Regions from separate parts of the Homo sapiens genome. Here region 2 is linked to region 1. Evidence: promoter capture Hi-C in 16 types of primary human blood cells and fetal thymus (Javierre and others, 2016). All regions are on one chromosome and are shown on one strand. The core of a region is centred on a gene start or on the middle of the fragment in contact, and the rest is flanking DNA. Distances in the headings are between cores, read along the strand shown.

Region 1 (2,945 bases), core at 218-2,717:
AGTTCACTGCAGCCTCGACTTCCTCAGGCTCAAATGATCCTCCCACCTCAGCCTCCCAACTACCTGGGACCACAGGTAAACACCACCATACCCGGCTAAGTTTTGTATTTCCTGTAGAGGTGGGGTTTTGCCATGTTGCCCAGACTAGTCTCAAATGATCCTCCTACCTTGGCCTCCCAAAGTGCTGGGATTATGGGCATGAGCTACTGCACCCAGCAATTCTCTATTTTACTTCTTTCTTCTAACATTCACTTTCTCTTTCCTCTCTTCCTGAAAAGATGGCTAGGGAGGAAGAAGGGAATAAATATTTCCTATGTTCTAGACACTCATGGCTGCTTTACCTGGTGATATAAACCTATATTTTAAAAAGTTGAGGTATAAATTACACACAATAAAACCCACAGTTTGATGGTTTTTGACAAATGTATACACCCTTATAACCACCACTCCATCAGTTATAACGACATGATTCATCCTCACACTTAATCCATGAGAGATTGGTGTCACTGGCTCCATTTTATAGCTGAGGAAAGGGAGGATCAGAAAGATTAACAACAATAGCCATAACAATGGCAAATACTATGAGCCAGGTACTGTTCTAAGCACGTTACACATATTACCTCATTTAATCCTCTCTACAACCCCATTGGTCCCATTTTACAGACGAAGAAACTTGCCAAAGGTCACACAGCTAAAGAGTTAGAGCAGGATTTCTGGTGCTCAGATTACCTTATTTCCCTTACAGTACCTCCAGAGAATTTTTTTTAAGTTCCCTCATTAGATTTTCTTTTATCCCAGAGAGAAAAATCTCCCCAAACAAAACTAAAGGCCATCGGAAGGAAAGCCATATCGATGCTAGCCCCCACTCCATCCCCGGCTTTCTTTAAACTACGGGCAGTCAGATTTAACATCATGGATAGAAAGGTTGGTCTTGAAGAAAAGCCTTGTTTTGCTACCCATTAAACAGTGGGCTTTTCATCTAAGAAAGTCCTTCAAGCCTTCTGCCCAAGTAAAGTGATCAAATTCCCCTGAGGTTCAGCTTGACCTGGTAAAACACGTTGCTTTGTGGAACGAGTTTCGCTTTGCCAGCGGTGCTGAGCATTTCCTTGGGAATCTCGCACCCACGCTGGACCACACTGATGCCTCCTCTGTGCATAGAAAGGCAAAGGTATGGGGTGGCTGTTTGGGACCTTCATATAAAAAGGTCAACCCACTTCTCTGCCTTTTACCCACAGCCCCACCCCTGAGGAGGGAAAAATCTGCAATTGTTGGATTAGGGCTGAGGTGCACATTTGCCCTTTGCATAACTGGCAGCGTTGCAAAGGACAGCCCCTTTCTCTCTTCCCTCCATTCTCTCCCATCTGGCAGAGGAGTCCGGCTCCCTAAATCTTCTTTTTGTTGGTTAGTTTCCATGGCAGTTATTGTCTGTGTGTGTGAGCGTGTCCGCCCCCTCACCCGCTCTCCTCGCAGAGCGGGCCTTTGCAGCTGAGACTGGGTGGAGGGAGAGGCGCGGAGACACTGGGGCTCTGACGAGCTGGCTGAGGCCCTCTCAGTAGGGGGGTCACGCCTCCTGGAACTCAGGGACCCCAAGTTTCTGTGCATTCAGGGCGGGGCTGGCCCCATGCCCTGTGCATAGGGGCCTGGCTGCATCCCAGTCGATCAGCCAGAGGCAGCAGCAGTGGACTCATCAATTGTGGAGGAAGCCCTGGGGACCCTGGGGACCTTGCCGACTCTATTCCCAGCCAGCTCCTAGGACAAGCCTCAGAGCCAACACCCGCTCGACCCTCTCCCGGCCCCTCCCCTTCTTTGTCTTTTGCAGATGATCGCCGGGTGTCGATCCTTTTCCCTCCAGTCAGGTAAGTTTTATTTCAATCCATCTATGCAGAGTGATGCCTTGGCATTCTGAGGGCCTGCTGGTGGGGAGACAGGCAGTGGTGTCTGTGAGAGGAGGGCTGCCCAGGTAGACAGGCTGGCATGGGGGTCAGGAGGGACAAGGGTCTCCAAGGGCCTTTTCTCCTCAGCTGGGCCTCTCTAGCTTTGAAGTTAAAGGTTCCTTCCCATCTGGTTTTAACCCAGCTAATTAACTCCAAAGATTGCTGTCCAGGGCACAGACTGACCAACATACAGCCAACCTCCAGAACTTCTGGCTTCTGATCCGAATTCAGCTCAACTTTATGGAATATCAAACAGAAAACCAAATATTGCATATTCTCACTTACAAACGTGGGAGGTAAACCCTGGATGCAGATGGACATCAAGATGGGAACAATAGACACTGGGAACTCAAAAAGGAGGGAGGGGGGGAGGGGGACAAGGGCTGAGAAACTTCCTATTAGGTTACTGTGTTCACTATACAGGTGACGGGATCAATAGAAACCCAAACCACAGCAACACGAAATACACCCTTGTGACAAACCTGCGCACATGCCCCTGGGTCTAAAATTAAGATTTTTAAAACTTATGGACTACCTACTATGTACATACACATTGCTGTGCTTGGCTCCGAAGGGAAAGTGCTTTGACAGCAATGGCACATAACATGGTTCCTGCCTTCCGATGCTTACCATCTGGTAAGAAAGAATATCTACATAGACAGGTATGGGGATTCCGGGGCCAGGCAAGCTAGATGTCACATCCCTGTTCTGGCTGTGTGACCTTGGGCAAGTCATTTAACCTCTCTAAGTCTAAGTTTTCACCTTTGTACAATGACAATAATAATAGTACCTACTTTATAGGCTAAATTATACACACACACAACTCACACACACACCAAACTCTGATCAGTTCATGACGCATATTGAGCACCATATACTTGTTAAAGATGATTATTATTGTTATTATTGACTTTTTATGAGGTTCAAATTATACAAAATATGTAAAGAATGTAGTGTGGTGTTTAGAATAATGAGTGGTGGTTATTATCATGCTAACATAGTTATAGATGA
Region 2 (2,945 bases), core at 254-2,753, 190 kb before region 1:
AGAGTTCATCCTCCAGGGATTCTGACTTTGGAGGTCTGGGGTAGGGCCCAGGACTCTGCATTCTTAGCAGACCCTCAGATAATTCTGAAGCAGGAGGGTCCTGATGCACCCATCTCTGAGAAACCTGCTTTACACCCATCTGAGTGGTATCTGTCCCAACCCCTACTCATGGCAAGGGGCCCATAAACCTCTGAGGGATGACTAAATGTTCCGGTGTGGTTCAGGTTTCTCTCTGGGGGTTGAAAATGTTATAAAGTGCAATGGGAGATTTTCTAGGCAGAAGATGGGTCCTTTGCCTTCTGAGAGATGGGGCTACTTCTCTTGGGTTTCACTCTATAGGTGAAGGCGGAGTGAGGGGAGAGGGCCGCCCCTTGAGGGCTCAGCAGGGCCCTAGCCTGCGCCTGTTTTCAGACCAGGTTGCTGCTCTTTTGGCTGACGTCATAAAACAGAGCCCTGGGTGGGCGTGGTGGCTCACGCCTGTAATCTTAGCACTTTGGAAGCTGAGGCAGCGGGATCACCTGAGGTCAGGAGTTCAAGACCAGCCTGCTCAACATGGTGAAACCCCATCCCTACTAAAAATACAAAAATTAGCCACGTGTCAAGTGAGGAGCACCTCTCTCTGGCCGCCGCCCTGTCTGGGAAGTGAGGAGTGCCTCTTTCTGGCCGCCACCCTGTCTGGGAAGTGAGGAGCACCTCTGCCCGGCCGCCGCCCACCATCTGGGATGTGAGGAGTGCCTCTGCCTGGCCGCTGTGCAACCCTCCAAGTGTGAAGTGACAGCCTTGTGGGTGATACTTCTGCCCTCCCCAAGTTTGCATTTTTGACATTGAAGTTTACTTTTTAATTAAAAGTTTTAAATTGGAGAATAAAAAAAAATTAGCCAGGCGTGGTAGCACACGTCTGTAATCCCAGCTAACTGGGAGGCTGGGGCAGGAGAACTGCTTGAACCTGGGAGGTGGAGGTTGCAATGGGCCAAGATCGTGCCACTGCACTCCAGCCTGGGCGACAGAGCAAGACTCTGTCTCAAGCAATAACAACAACAACAGAGCCCCAAGTCAGTGTTTCTCAACCTTGCCCCAACCGCTTCCGAATCACCTGTTATTTGTCAAAAATGCAGATTCCTGCCCCCAACTCTGATTTGTTGAATTAGGATGAGGAAGAGGGGACAGCGCCCAGAAATCTGCACTCTCGGCTGGCACCCCAGCCATCACTTATGCACCTGAATGCTTGAGAAATTCTGTCGCAGAACATGGACTTTGGAGTGTCACAGACCTGGGTTCCAGTCCCAGCTCTGCCACAAAGTAGCTGCGTGGTCTGGAGCAATCTCAGTCTCTGTGAAACTCAGTTTCCTCATCTAAAGAAATAGGTTACTACACAAGCTTATTGGTCTTGCTGTGAGTTGATTCTCACAAGACCAATCAAACAATGAAGAAATGTACGCAAAGCACTGGGCACCTCGGAGAGATGGCACCCCCAGCCTAGTGGTAAAGAGAGGGATGCATAGAGGAATGCTTTCTCTGGGAGGAAAGAGCTGGGAGCACTGAGCATTACTCACCCACTGGCAAACACTGACCCACTTCAAAACAATTCTGACTTTCCATTTCCTCTGGGGGGAGCTCAGTGAAGCTTTCAAAGGTGACTAGGTCCTTTCCCATACTCAGGTGTGAGCCATCCCAAGTCCCAAGTTGGGGTCAGGTGTTGTAAACAAAAAATAATACAATTTTGACTCCTTCCACACCTCCAGCTGAGCCCTCCATCCACGGCCCCACCTGCCATTTCCCCTCCACGTGACATTCCTAGATCCCTCACTGGGTGGCAGGCCCAGTCTGAAAGGCCCTCTTGGCAAACCACGGGTCTGCCAAGGTCCCTGGGACCTGTAGCCTCAAAGCCAGGAGTTTCCAAATCCTTCCTTCTCTTTGGCTCTCCCAGTCTGGCCATGCAAAGAAACGCCAGAGCTTTTAAAAAGTTTCGGCCATTCATAATGGATTAGTCCACTCCGGAAACATTCCCCAGCTCTGCTGAGAGCCTGCCAGGCGACTTGGTGACGTGCTGCTCTCAGCGCACACAATGGGCATGGGAGAACAATGACGAGGAGAAAAACATCCCGCCCGCGTGTCCATGGGCTCACATCCTCCTAGGACCCCGCCCCCGCATGCGCTCCCAGAGCTGGGGGAGTGGGGCGGGGGGACGGGGAGGGAGGGATAGAGAGAGGTGCTAGAGGACAACTGCGAGAGCAAGTGAGGGAGGGGAAGAGGAGGAGCTCACCCAAATTTCCCCGGTTTGGCTGCATTCTGAACCAGTTGGGTGAGTCAGATTAGAAGCCAAATCTGCTTATTCTGGCTCTCCTGCTAGCCCCGCGGCCACTGCTCACGGCCCGATGCTGAAACGGATTAAAACCTGAGCTGGCAAACAAAACAGTTCAGAGTTACTGACCTACGGTGCACAGCGTTGGGGCAGGGGTGTGCCTGGTAGGAGGCCAAGTGTTGCCACTTAACCTCCCATGTGCAAGGAGTTCAAAATCCCAAAGCCTCAGTTTCCCCATCCACTGAAATGGGGAAATCGTGCATGCTCTGTTTCCCTCACAGAAGGTGAGGCAACAAGGGCTACTGGGCGTGAAAGCATTTTCATAATTATTAAAAACATTAGCCAGGCGCGGTGGCTCACGCCTGTAATCCCAGCATTTTGGGAGGTTGAGGCAGGTGGATTACTTGAGGTCAGGAGTTCGAGACCAGGCTGACCAACATGGTGAAACCCCGTTTCTACTAAAAATGCAAAATTAGTCAGGCATGGTGACATGCACCTGTAATCCCAGCTACTTGGGAGGCTGAGGCAGGAGAATTGCTTGAACCTGGGAGGCGGAGGTTACAGTGAGCCGAGATTGTGCCATTGCATTCCAGCCTAGGCAACAAGAGTGAAACTCCATCTCAAAAAATAAATAAAAACAAAC

Evidence for each region. Contacts are between HindIII fragments. The CHiCAGO score rates a contact against its expected background, and 5 or more counts as called.
Region 2: a fragment that was not itself captured here is called in contact with the fragment with the promoter of KLHDC8A in region 1 in 2 of 17 cell types (total CD8 T cells and naive B cells); the score reaches 6.6 in total CD8 T cells.

The regions. Positions count from the first base shown.
Region 1 is chr1:205,355,444-205,358,388 of GRCh38, reverse strand. KLHDC8A (kelch domain containing 8A) reads left to right here and starts at 1,467. Exons shown (of 6, transcript NM_018203.3): 1 at 1,467-1,856. The HindIII fragment of the contact is 6,427 bases long and covers 1-2,945 here.
Region 2 is chr1:205,542,818-205,545,762 of GRCh38, reverse strand. No RefSeq gene overlaps it. Among named protein-coding and RNA genes, the nearest start is that of SLC60A1, 25 kb to the left of the region's middle. RefSeq lists silencers at 2,083-2,212, 2,313-2,362 and an enhancer at 1,928-2,222. The HindIII fragment of the contact is 247 bases long and covers 1,380-1,626 here.